3 separate regions of the Homo sapiens genome follow, and all the other regions are linked to region 1. Evidence: promoter capture Hi-C in 16 types of primary human blood cells and fetal thymus (Javierre and others, 2016). All regions are on one chromosome and are shown on one strand. The core of a region is centred on a gene start or on the middle of the fragment in contact, and the rest is flanking DNA. Distances in the headings are between cores, read along the strand shown.

Region 1 (4,114 bases), core at 285-2,784:
TGGTTGGGGTTAGTGGGCGCTCAATTTGCCATGAAGTGAACATTTTATTAGATAGGAGATGAAACTTGAAATGCATGCAAGTTAATCTAAAATTTGAGCTTGGGTAGATGGGAATCATGGCAGTTCTCTGAAAGGAGCTGATTAAGGTGTTAATTTTTGGCTATTTGATAAATGTGAGAAAAAACCTGTAGGCAGTTAAGGTGGCTTCTAGAGCATTGTTTTCCAGTTTTTTTAATGTATACCCCAATTAAATGTTTGTTTAGAAGTGAAATATGTTACTTCTGCCAATTTGAGTATTCAATGTGTTATTTTAAATGGAACACATCTGTATGAAGTATGATTTGTTCTGAGAGGTCTTCAGAATCAAATGGCTTAATAGTCCCCTTTTGCTTAATTAATGTCCCGGAGAGGCATTTAAAAGTATAATTGAAGATCGGATGCAGTGCCTCACACCTCTAATCCCACCACTTTAGGAGGCTGAAGCAGGTGGATCACTTGAGGCCAGGAATTCGAGACCAGCCTGGCCAATACGGTTTAACCCTATCTCTACTAAAAACAAAAATGAGTTGGGCGTGGTGGTGCATGCCTGTAATCCCAGCTGTTCAGAGGCTGAGGCGGGAGAATCGCTTGAACTCAGGAGGTGGAGATTGCAGAGAGCCGAGATGGCACCACTGCACTCCAGCCTGGGTGACAGAGTGAGACTGTCTCAAAAGGAAAAAATAAAGTATAACGGTAATGTTTTCTCCGCTAACCTTAAAGATTGATTTGAGCACCTCACTTTGAGGACCATAGTTCCAAAACGCTGTTCAAGTAGAAGCCTAGAATTCAAGGGAGGACACTGTAAGGAAGACCATGGACTAGTTGCACTGGAAACAGTAACAAAAGTAAAAATTAAGCTCACATGTATGTGATGATGTAGGTAGGGATTTCCGCAAGGAGTGAGTGCACGAGATAATCCCTGGGGACCAAGGATTCCTTCAATTTAATGGGCAGTTCTTGAGGCTTTGCAAAGTTTGATTGCAGGTGTGAAGACAGTGGTAAGGTGGACAGCAGAATGAGGAAAAAGATGTCCAGGGGCGTGGGAGAGGGAATGGGGACAGACATACTGGCAGTGATGGAGAAGTTGGGAAGAGGTGATTTAGAAGACCGTGAGCCGCAGCAAAGGATCTGCTTATTGCAGTTGCGTCCGGTGTTGTTCCTGCTCCGCTTTTCTGATTTCACCCTTTCTGGACTCTGTCTTCGTCTCCTGCCACGCCTCTTAACATTCTAAGTCCATGTAAATGACATTCTCACGTTAAGGGCTGCAAAGAAATTGCTGAGGAGCCAGGTAAACAGGCTTTGATTGCAATTGCAATCAAACCTCTGTAGCAAATCGTACAATTAAAACACCCGCAGGCAGGTGTGGGCGACGCCAGCAGCACACGGGGAAGCTGGGCACGTGGGGCGGAGGCAGCTGCCTGGTTTCCATGTGTGCGCCCTTTAAGACCCGGCGGCGCGACGGAAGCGCGTGGGCAGCACGTGGGCAGCACGTGATAGCGCTGGGCGACTCCGCGGAGCTGCACGGCCATGGACGTGGGCGCCGACGAGTTCGAGGAGAGCCTCCCTCTGCTGCAGGAGCTCGTCCAGGAGGCCGACTTCGTGGGTGAAGAGCCTGGGATTCGCGGCTGTGCCGGACAGAGCCCCTTGCCCCGGGCGAGCTTGAGGAGGGGGTGGCGGGACGGTTGCCAGGCCACAGGGCCTCAGAGAGGGCCTCGGGAAGGACAGGGGGGCTTCCTTCTCCAGCCCCGGGGCGGTGGGACTTTGAGCAGCAAGTACACTCCGAGCCCCACGTCCCTTGTTGGCCAGAGCCCCGTGCGCCCAGGTGCCTGGCTGCTCCTTGCCTTGGTTCCTCCATTTTCCCTTCCTGACCTCACTTGGCTTCTTGAGCGCAGAGGTGAGCGCGGGTGCCTTGGCCGCCTGCAGATCTACAGTGTGAGGAGTGCTGGCGATGTTCTGCACCCGAGGACTGCTATTTTTTGCCTTCCTGGCAGGTCTGGACATAGAGTTCACGGGCCTTCGTTCTAACCTGTCTGGGCCCCAGCAGATCAGGTAAAACTAAAGCTGTGTCCCCTCTGTATAAGAGCCTGGCCAGACCAGCACTGTTTCTGGCCAGCAGCCTGTTGGCATTTGGGGGGCAGGACGTTTTGTGTGGCTTGCTCCTACGTGTTGGAGGACCTTGCTTTTTTCTGTCCACTAAATGATGGTAGTGCTCCCTAGTTGTTGTAACAAGGAAAAAATCCTCCCCGGTTGCGAGTGGTGGTCCTGCCGCGGAGGCCATAGTGCCGGGATGGGATGTCATTGCTCGTGGAATGAGATGCCTGTTTGTTCACAGTCTTTTTGATTTGCCATCGGAGTGGTATCTAAAGACCCGTCAGAGTGTTCAGCAATTTACAGTCTGTCAGATTGGTGAGTTTAATATCAGCTGTTAGAGTTTTTCAAGAAGGTATTTTTATTGTCCTTGGATTTCCTACTGTAAAAACAGCTCTGAGATTTTTCAAGGATATTGAGTATCGTTTTGTATGCTTGTTTTGTGTTGGGCCATTGTATACATATGGAAATCAACACTTCGGAGCAAACCAAATTTAGCAGCATTGTTTCCGTGCTTAAATAAGTCAGTATTAAGGAACACTCACTGTTACTCTTTCAAGTAAAACTGTGTGTGTGCGATTTTTATTTTATTTTTTGAGACAGGGTCTTGCTCTGTCACCAAGACTGGAGTGCAGTAGCATAGTCTTAGCTCACTGCAGCCTAGACTTCCTGGGCTCAAGTGATACTAGCACGTCAGCCTCCTGAGTAAACTGGGACTACAGGCTCACCACCACACCTAGCTAATTTTTAAATTTTTTGTTCAGATGGGTTTTCGTCATGTTGGCCAGGCTGTTCTTGACTTCCTGGGCTCGAGCAATCTTTCTGCCTCTGCCTCTCAAAGTGATGGAATTATAAGCGTGAGCAACCACACCTGGCCTGTGATTTTTTTTTCTTAAGAAAATTTACACACAAAAATAATTTTTTTTAAGGTCATCTCAGTTTCAGAAACTTTTTTTTTTTCCTTGATGGGATTTGGAGATCTTTCTGTATCGGTTCATACAGATCTATTTGTTGATTTAGTTATTAGTTTATTTTCTGAGATGGAGTCTCGCTCTGTTGCCCAGGCTGGAGTGCAGTAGCGCGATGTGGGCTCACCGCAACCTCCACCACCCAGGTTCGGGTGATTCTCCTGCCTCAGCCTCCAGAGCAGCTGGGATTACAGGCAATTGCCACCAGGCCTGGCTAATTTTTGTATTTTTAGTAGCGATGGGGTTTCACCATGTTGGCCAGGCTGGTCAAGACAGAGCTGTTAACGGTTGCGTAATGCTGTTTCTTTTACAGCTACTCAATCCTGCTTTTGTAATGTGAAATTAGCTGTAGAGAATACATGAACAAATGAGCATGGCTCCATTCCAGTAAAATGTTATTGTATTTACAGAAACAGACCCTGGGCCAGATTTTACTTTTCTGGGTTTGTCTGTGCCCTCTCCCGCACCATTGGGTTTTTGCTGTGTTGCCCAGGCTGGGCTCAAACTTTTGGGCTCTGGAGATCCTCCAGTCTCAGCTTCTGAAGTAGCTGGGAGTGCTGCCACGCCCAGCCCCTGCTTTTACTATGAATGATGCTGAACGTGTGTGTGTTTTCCTCTCTATCCTGATCCTTTGCTACTTTTCTGTTATGGTTTTTTTTTTGTTCGTTTGTTTGTTTTTAATTATAAGACCTCTTTGAGAAGTATAGGAAACAGTTGTAGTTATGTTTCCATTGTTGTACCCAAATTTGTTTGGGGGGAAGGGGGACAGAGTCTTGCTCTGTTGCCCAGGCTGGAGTGCAGGGGCACGATCTTGGCTCCCTGCAACACCCTTGCCTCCCAGGCCCAAGCAATTCTCCTGCCTCAGCCTCCTGAGTAGCTGGGATTACAGGTGCGCGCCACCACACCTAGCTAATTTTTGTATTTTTAGTAGAGACAGGGTTTCACCATGTTGGTCAGGCTGGTCTCGAATTCCTGACCTCAAGTGATCCACCTGCCTAGGTCTCCCAAAGTGTTGGGAT
Region 2 (4,494 bases), core at 78-2,577, 630 kb before region 1:
TCGCGGGTCGGGGCACTTGGCGCCCTGTGTGGGTGGCGGGAGCGGGGACGCCTCGGTGCCCGGGGACCGCAGCGCGCTGGCGTTTAACTTTGCCGTCGCCCGCCTTGGAGTCGGGAGGCTCCAGCCGTCTAAGTGTCCCGGGAGATTCAGGCACAGCGGGGAAAAAAGGAAAAGAAAGGCGACTTTCAGCGTGCGGACTGGGGTAATGCCTTTCTTTGCCCAGAATTTCTCGGGAGCGTAGGTGGTCATCCTACTTTCTCCGCGTTCACCTCTCGCGAGGCAGGATGACGGGCGCACTCGGGAGACCGGAGGGAGGCAGAGCAGGGCTGTTCTAGAAGGTCGTGGGGGAAAGGCTGCGAGCTGCCGCAGGGCGTCGGGTGCCTCTGCGCTCCAGAGGAGAAGCGCTCCAGTGCCAGCTCGGCTCCAGGCGGCAGGAGGCCCGCGCGCCCGGGGGGAACGTTCAAGCTGGGAGAAAATGTTTGTCTTGAGAGGAGGGAGAGGGAAATGAGAAAGCTGATTCCAGAGAAACTCGCCCTTCCCCAATGGCTGAGGCTGCAGCCAGGATGGATGCTTCCTTTGAGAGCAATGCTTTTCAGAAAATGCTAGCGCGCTCCTGTCAGATTTCTTGCAAGCTTCCTGCAGAGAGAGACAAGTTTGTGGCGAGGTTTTCATTCCTAAGCCTTTGGCGGCCCTTGTTACCACCTCCTTTGCAGGCATTTTTACACTTGAAACTGGCTTTTAGGTTATTGGTTTGTAGAAATCCAAGAAGCAGACAATGATCGTCAGATACTATTCCAACGAGGGTACCAGTTTTATGATGCTATTTAGTGTATATATTGTTCTCTTACTTCAGGGGTAAAGGAAGAAAAGTTGGGGATCACATTACTTTGTGACTTTTTGGTAGATACATCATCCCAATGCTTGGCTCAGGTTTATGCGAGGTATTCTGATGCCAATGCCACTTTCTCATAAAAGGCAGTGCCTGCCGTAGGGTCTTTTTCTTCCCATTAGTGAACTCTAGGAAAGTATTCACTGAATACTTTGCACAGTACTTGAGAGGAATAAAACTAAATAAAGTCTTCCAACTTCCCCACCTACAACTCCTGGCTTTTGTTTTTCTAAGTGAAAATTTTCAGAGTGCTGGAAGAGTTTTTGTTTCTGAAAATGATCTGAAACTGGAACCAGTGCTGCCCTGGCTTTGTGGCGATTCCAGCCTTCTGCTTTTCCGATTCCTCTGCCACCTGCCCGTGGGTTGCATGTGAGTGGGTCCGAGCGGGGTTGTTTGTGAGAGCTCCTGGAATCCCACCGCGATCTGCACTCTTGCTTTTTCGCCTTCTGCTCTGTGAATCACTGTGCTGAGGAATGCTGGGGCTGGACAGCTTCCCAGCCCTTCTCTCTACTGTGTTGACGTGGGATCTACAGTCAAATGATGACCAGACTAGAGGTGGACAAAGGAGGACAGGCACATTTCAGAATGAAATCTACTAAATTTAAATTAAGTAATAGAAGGATAGAAACAGACATAGCAACCTGTAGATAGCTCCCCATGCTGTGGATGAAATTATGGGGTACATAACTTCTTTCATGGGCTCCCTTTGACAGCAACGTCATGGATAGACTGCTCCCTCTCTCTGGTTGAACTAATGCATGGACCAAGCGAGCTGCTTGTGTCAAGCTCTCCCCTTCACCACCCTTTTGGGGCCAGAATCTCTGTAAGGAAATTACCCACGGCCACATAATAGTGGCTCCGAGGGACTTTGCTTAAAGCAGGACACACTGAAGATCTGGATAAGCCCTTCAGTGTAGGGTCAATTAAACATAAAACAAAATAAGCAAGCAGTGTCCCCTCCTCCACTCATATTCATCCCTACAATAGGATACTATGCAAACATTAAAATTATGATGGCCTTGCCAGTCTGGTATGATACATTTTTCTAAACACATGTGGATGTACTCACACATGCACATATTTGCAGTGGGTATCTTAGGATGGTTAGGGATGATTTTTATTTTCTTCTTTAAAGAAGCTTTTAGGGAATTTTCCATGTCAAAACTATTTTCAAAGTAATACTAAGATTACTAAGATGCTATTTTCCTTTTTCACAGTTGACATTTGCACTGAGGGTGCAAAAGCTTGATGGGTAAACTGCGGGTGTCTTACTGAGAATCAAGGCAGGGACATCACCATGCACTAGTAGTCTTTGAATTTTGGGGGGACTTTGCAGTTAAAAAAAATTTGCCAGTTTCATTAAGAATGTTCTTGATGCCACAGTAAAATTATTAATTTTACCAAATCTTTGTATCTTTGAGTGTATGTCTTTTTAATAGTGTAAATAAATGGGAAGGACACATAAGTTACTACTGCTGATGACCAAGTTCAGTGGCAACCCCAGGGGGAAGCACTGGTGTGATTGTTTGTGTTATGCATTAAGCTAGCTGGTTTTTTAAAATGGAATGTGGTATTTACCACAAAGAATGACAACAGACAAACTAGAGCTATTCTGACTTGGGTATTTGGCCGATGTTTTCTCAAAAATGAACAAAGGGAACTTGCTACTTCTAGTAAAATAACTGCTATTATTGCTTGCCAATGATAACATTTCAGCTTTCAAGTGAAAATCAGAATTTTGCCAAGTTGTTTCCACCACTGTAAGCTTGAAAGTTTCCCAATATTTAAATTTTTTTCTAGTGAGATCAATGGTGATATAAATGAATGTGATTTGTAAATGTCATCTCATAAAATGTGTCAACATTTGGATGATCTGCATAACCAAATAAACCAATAGATCCAAATGACCAGTGTATAGCCTTACAACAATCTTGCATGGGTAAAAGGTCTGTTCAAAGTGCATGATAGCCCAATGGATTTTTAATGTAACAAAATATGAAAAATTCTTCATATGATTTCAGATTCTAAGAATTGGCTACTTGATGAATTTTGGTGTAATATCAAAGATTTTTCAAAATTATCCAAAAAGGCTATTGAAATAGTTGTCCAGCTACACATCTGTGTGAGGCTGGGTTTTCTCCAAGCAAAACGACATATTGCAATAGATTGAATGCATAAGCAGATCGGAGATATTCTATTAAAAAGATTTGCCAAAATGTAGAAACAAAGCTGCTCTTCTCACTCATTTCTCTTTGTTTTGGGAAACAGTTACTTTTCATATAAATATATTTGTATGTCAACATGTAATGGTTTATTATTGTTTTTTAAAATAAATAAGTACATATTTTCGTTTTAATTCCCAGTAAAGTCAATAAGGATAGATAAAACTCACAGAAACATAACCTCCTTGGCATCCTCGTAAATTTAAGAATAGAAGATAATTCAGACACCAAAATGTTTGAGACACACTGGTATATACGGAGGGAAGTAGGTTAAAAATCAGGATGCCTGGGTGTGAGTGGCAGTGCTGTCCTGCACCTCTGGGGGCCTTGGGCTAGTCTCCGCGCTTCAGAATAGGTCAATTGAAGGAGGCTCCTTCCATCTCTGGAAGCCTTTAGAAGCTCGCCTGTGGCTCAACCTGCATGTGGCTTTATGGGGTTTCCCTGTTACTTCAGTCCTCTTTGAGAGAACGTGGTGAGACCCTCTCTCCTTTTTTGTGCACTGGCACCCGCCAATGGCAGATGGAAGAGCTGTTTTGTTCATCAACTGATCATGAAATTTATTCCTGTGGAATCAGAGGTTGTAATAGGATTGCAGAGTGACAATTTGCACCCCTGGAAAGTTATCACCAGACAGTTCCAGAGCATGATGAATATACTCTACCAAGACCATTCACATCATACTTAAGTTCTAAAGGCCCGTTCCCTGAAAACAGGAGGGGAAGGAGAGTGTATTCATTTCCTATTGCTATAACAAATTGCCACACACTTAATGACTTGAAACAATACAAATTTATGATCTTTATTATAGTTATAGAGATCAGAAGTCTGAAATGTGCGGTACTGGGCAAAAATCAAGGCCTGCATTGAAACTTTAAGGGAGAATCTATTTCCATGCTCTTTTTACCTTCTAGAGGTGCCCACATCCTTGGTTCTCGGGATTAGGACAAGGACATCTTTGGGGGATCATTATTCTTCCTACCTCAAGGGATGAGGGGGGCAGGGAGCCTGGAAGCAAACATTTCGGGAGAGGCTCCATCACCCTTGGCTGATTAAGGAGCAGACCTCTTTTCATTGGCCCCCCATGGAACTTAGGGATTTCTTGAGTTATAATTAAACTGTTATCAGAAGCTATTATTTCAGTTAAAAAATAGAGGTATTTAAAGGTATAAAAGTAAAGGAGAGAAAGGACTATGTATGTGTATGTATTTACTTGTAACTGCACAGAACGTTTCTGTTAGAATACCCATGAAACTACAAACTTTGGTGCCTTTGGGATGGAGAGCTGGGTCGCTGGGGGACAGTGGTGGATACTGTTTCATCCATCTCTTTTACCAACTTTTGTAGATGTATGTTAGAACATTTGGAATCAGGGAGGTATGTGAA
Region 3 (4,043 bases), core at 659-3,158, 650 kb after region 1:
TGAAAATGTTGAAGACCACAACCAAAATTTACTCAAATCAAAGTTAAGTACAGAGTTTATTTTTAACAAATGTCATAGCTATGTCACCTTACTACAGAATCCAGCAGTCAGAAAATAACACAAAAAATGCCGAGGTTTGGCGTAGCTGGTAGCTGGGGACAGTGTCTTCGTTTGATTACTGCCAGTTATTTCCAGCATGCTAAATCCCTACCCACGTTCCAGCCTCTAGGTGAGTCAGTGCGTCACTCTGTCTCCCGTCCAATTAATTATTTCTCATCACTCCCTCAATCCAAGTAACAAACCTTGAAACACGAACATAGACACCAGGCTTATTGGGGCGTGCACAGCCAAGACCCCAAGAAGTGACTCCTTGTAAAATGTATTTGTCCTTCTCAAAGCAAACCAGAGGCCCTCCACTGTCACCCTAAATAGAGGTAGGGAAAAATTCATGTGAGGGTTAGGCTGCCAGCCTTTTATTGTGGCATCCATCTATTGTCCATATGTATATTTTCCCAGTAATTGAAATTGGAAAGGAACTTATGGGCATATTACTGGAGCATCTGCAGTGCTTAAGTACTTAGCAAAATCTATTCAGCGAAACCACACCACTTAGTTTCTCCCAGGGGTAAAAAAAACCCTTGTGAATCCTGCACACATCCCTTCCTGTGTTGGTGTTTCCTTTAGACTGGCCTAGCCTGGGCATCACTGTAAAGTATGTGCAGTTGGTCTCTGTCCTGTACCCTCTACCTCCTTCCCTGTCGGAAAAGTCACCACTTTAGTCCCTGGCCACCAGCACACCCCAGGAGGGTGAGTGGCCTGAGGTAGTTACGGCACTTAAAACTCCCTTGCTACCGATCTGGAACTCAAGCCCCAAGACATCCCCTTAGATGATCTGAATACGCATTCAGGGACAGATCTAGGCAGTTTCTAAACAACACTTAGACTGGGGTCTAACGTTGACAAATCCTTCTAGAATTTGCCTCTTTGGGACTGAAGTCTAAGGGGCTGAGACCAAGAAGGGAGAGCACAAGACTAACTTTGGTCTCTTGACCTTTTCTTACCTTGCAACTGTCAGTGCCTCCAGCCAAATGCCTAGCACAGAGCTCAGTGGATTTGATTCTTCCATTCAGATACTCATAGCGATTGCACACTTTATTCTCAATCACAAGAAGCTGGGGCTTCCTTGAGAAGGCCAGCCCCAAAGGTACCTGTGTTTAAAAGATGAAAGAAATGGTTGCTGAACCCAAAACATGTTTAGGAGGAAAACCAGAAGAACAGAGCAGTGGCACTGGACCTCCTGTCTGTCCGTGAGGCTGCAGAACACAAGGCAGCTCCCAATGCCGCTGGACTCTCTGACCTTGGAGAGTGTAAACATCATATATGATTCTGTGTTCCTGAGATCTGGGTTTAACGATCTGGGCTTTGTCATGGTGTTTTACGTTCGTTGTTGTTTGTGTACTTTTTGCTTTTCTTTTGAAAGTATGAAAATGATTTTTACAATGTAAAGAGAGTCTGAGAAATGCAATTGCTATTCTTTTTATATACTTTTTCAGATTTTTTATATGCTTCTTTACTACTTACATCATAATGCACAATTTTATATACTGATTTTTTCAATCAATGTATATCATGAGTTTTTAAAATAATGCTACAATCTTCATAACTAATATTTTAATGGGGAGTGACTGCTTAATTGGCATGAGGTTTCCTTTTGAGATGAGGAAAATGTTCTGAAAATATGGTGATGGTTGCACACCATTGTGAATGTACTGAATGCCATTCAGTGGTACCCTGCAAAATAATTAAAATCCTAACTCTTATGTTGTGTATATTTTATTGCAATAAAAAGAATAGTCGTCATTTACTAAGAATTAACCTTTTCAGGCACAAGCTCTTAATGTGGTGTATCTCACTTCATCCTCACAACCGTCCTATGAAACAGGCACTTTTATCATTCCTGTTCTACAGCTGAGGAAACTGAGGTGTAAGGAGGTTGTGTAGTTCAGCTTGAGCCTGGGTCTGCGGAGTCACTGCCCAAATGCTTCCTCCCCGTGCACACTGGCCCCACTCTTGCTTCCAATCTTCCACATGTTTGTTCATAAAGTTCATTCTCGTTTCTTTTCTGAAGTCTAAGTTCCCATAATTATGTTGACATATTTCCATCTCGCGGTAACACTCCCAAATTATTTTCTAAAAGTGTGTGACAGTATAAAATGTTACTGGAAACAATTCTCCTCACCCTTGTGAGTATTCAATTTTTAAAAGATTAGCTAACATAGTAGGTGGAAATTGTCCTGATTCATTTTCTGATTTACACTTCCTTGACAATTAGGGAGAAGAAATACAACTAGGGACAATTCTCCTAGTTGTAGTTTTTCTTTTGTGAAAAACTGCTTTATTTCCTTTGCCAAATTGAAACAGAACATCTGCTAAACTGCCAGAGGGAATGCTGTTTTTCCAGATGGACACGCCAAGGATGTCTCAGTGCTCTCACAAATAATCGTTTTCCAATTTTGCAAGCCCAGCTTTGATTAGAATTTCTCAAAATATTTTGCTTTGCGAGCATGACACAGGCAAAAGCTGAGGCACTCTTTCTTTCTTCCCCCAAAGTGTTGGACTGCACTTAGATCATTGTCTCAGGTTCAGAAAACTGACACTGAATCTGGAGTTTACATGAGCAGCGTAGAAGAGGCTCTTCCCAGAGCCTGGCTCCAGAGCCCAGCTCAGCCCTAGCCGGGAAGGAGCTGCATGGAGGAAGCTCCTCCTGGCTACCAAGCATCGGGCAGGGGGTGCATGACGTGGACTGTGTAGATGGGTGAGGGAGCACCCTTTTCAAAATATTTTGCTGAAAATTAAGTTAGATATCACTGCTCTCAGATCTGCTCTCAGAGCAAGGCAAACATCCTGATCAGGAGGTAAACCCACCACTAGTTGCCAGGAAATTGACGCGGTCTGTGAGTATGTGCTGCCATCCAGTGGCCAATGTAGAGATGGCACCTCTGAGGGCGGGGGGCCACGGGTGACCTTGAGGATTGAAGCCCTCCCTGATTGGGTCCTGGGGAGAGGGCCACAAGATTAGCCCAGTGATTGTGGATGGGGCTGACACGGAAGAGCCCCTTGGCCTCAACACCTACTCTGCATTTGGAATATCCAAGTCAAGGAAGGTCTGGAAACATGAAGGGGAGAGGGGGAGAATTTCGACCTCCCTCTGAGAAGCTGAGAACACCCATTGATCTGATGTCATCAACATATAGAAAATCGATAAACAGATCTGAGTTATGTTTTGTGACTCCTCCTGGTCTAGTTAGTGTTCTGAGAATCATTTTCTCAGTGGACATGTGGGTGAGACCAGAGGAGACAGGGAGCCAGTGCAGGATGGTGGTTAGAAATGTGCAGAAGGGGGTGGGAGAGAGGACACAGCGAGTGGGCTCTGGGGTCAAGGCCCGGTTACACGCCGGTTATGTGATGTTTATTTATGATGATAGTGGTGATAGTGATGGTGATAGTAGTGATAATAGTGATGATGGTGGTGGTGATGATGGTTGTGGTAATGATAATGGTGATGGTGGTGGTGATGGTGATGATGGTGGTGGTAGTGATAATGGCAATGGTGGTGATGGTGATGGTGGTGATGGCGGTGGTAGTGGTAGTAATGATGATGATGGCGGTGGTGATGGTGATGATGGTGATGGTGGTGGAATGGTGGTGATGGTAATGGTAGTAATGATGATGACGGTGGTGGTGATGATGTTGATGGGGAGGATGATGATAAGTGGTGGACGGGGATGACGGCGATGATTAATAACCCTAATCCTCACAATGACCTTATATGTAAGTACAGATGAGAAAGCTGAGGCTAAAAGAGATTAAATAACTGCCCAACGTCACATGGAATATGGGAGAGACAGAACTCACACCCGGATCCTTATGATTTTAGCTTCATGCTTTCATCAGTTGAAGTATTGTAGAGGATCTGTTTGTTTTCTGGCTGCCCAGCAGCCTTTCACCCTACATCCCATAATTCTGGTGAGGGATCTACCTTT

Evidence for each region. The method cuts DNA at HindIII sites, captures the fragments that hold promoters and counts their contacts. A CHiCAGO score of 5 or more calls a contact.
Region 2: a contact is called between a fragment that was not itself captured here and the fragment with the promoter of PNLDC1 in region 1, in 1 of 17 cell types (M0 macrophages). The highest score is 5.2, in M0 macrophages.
Region 3: a fragment that was not itself captured here is called in contact with the fragment with the promoter of PNLDC1 in region 1 in 5 of 17 cell types (total CD4 T cells, naive CD8 T cells, total CD8 T cells and 2 more); the score reaches 9.4 in total CD4 T cells.

What each region holds. Positions count from the first base shown.
Region 1 is chr6:159,798,742-159,802,855 of GRCh38, forward strand. It overlaps PNLDC1 (PARN like ribonuclease domain containing exonuclease 1), which reads left to right and starts at 1,535. Exons shown (of 19, transcript NM_001271862.2): 1 at 1,535-1,642; 2 at 2,031-2,088; 3 at 2,372-2,445. The coding sequence starts at 1,567. The HindIII fragment of the contact is 10,328 bases long and covers 1-4,114 here.
Region 2 is chr6:159,169,829-159,174,322 of GRCh38, forward strand. The region is part of intron 1 of FNDC1 (fibronectin type III domain containing 1); the gene reads left to right. FNDC1-AS1 (FNDC1 antisense RNA 1) reads right to left here and starts at 179. Exons shown (of 4, transcript NR_121668.1): 1 at 1-179. RefSeq lists enhancers at 427-926, 4,489-4,494. The HindIII fragment of the contact is 1,395 bases long and covers 631-2,025 here.
Region 3 is chr6:160,453,163-160,457,205 of GRCh38, forward strand. No RefSeq gene overlaps it. Among named protein-coding and RNA genes, the nearest start is that of SLC22A3, 110 kb to the left of the region's middle. The HindIII fragment of the contact is 6,115 bases long and covers 1-4,043 here.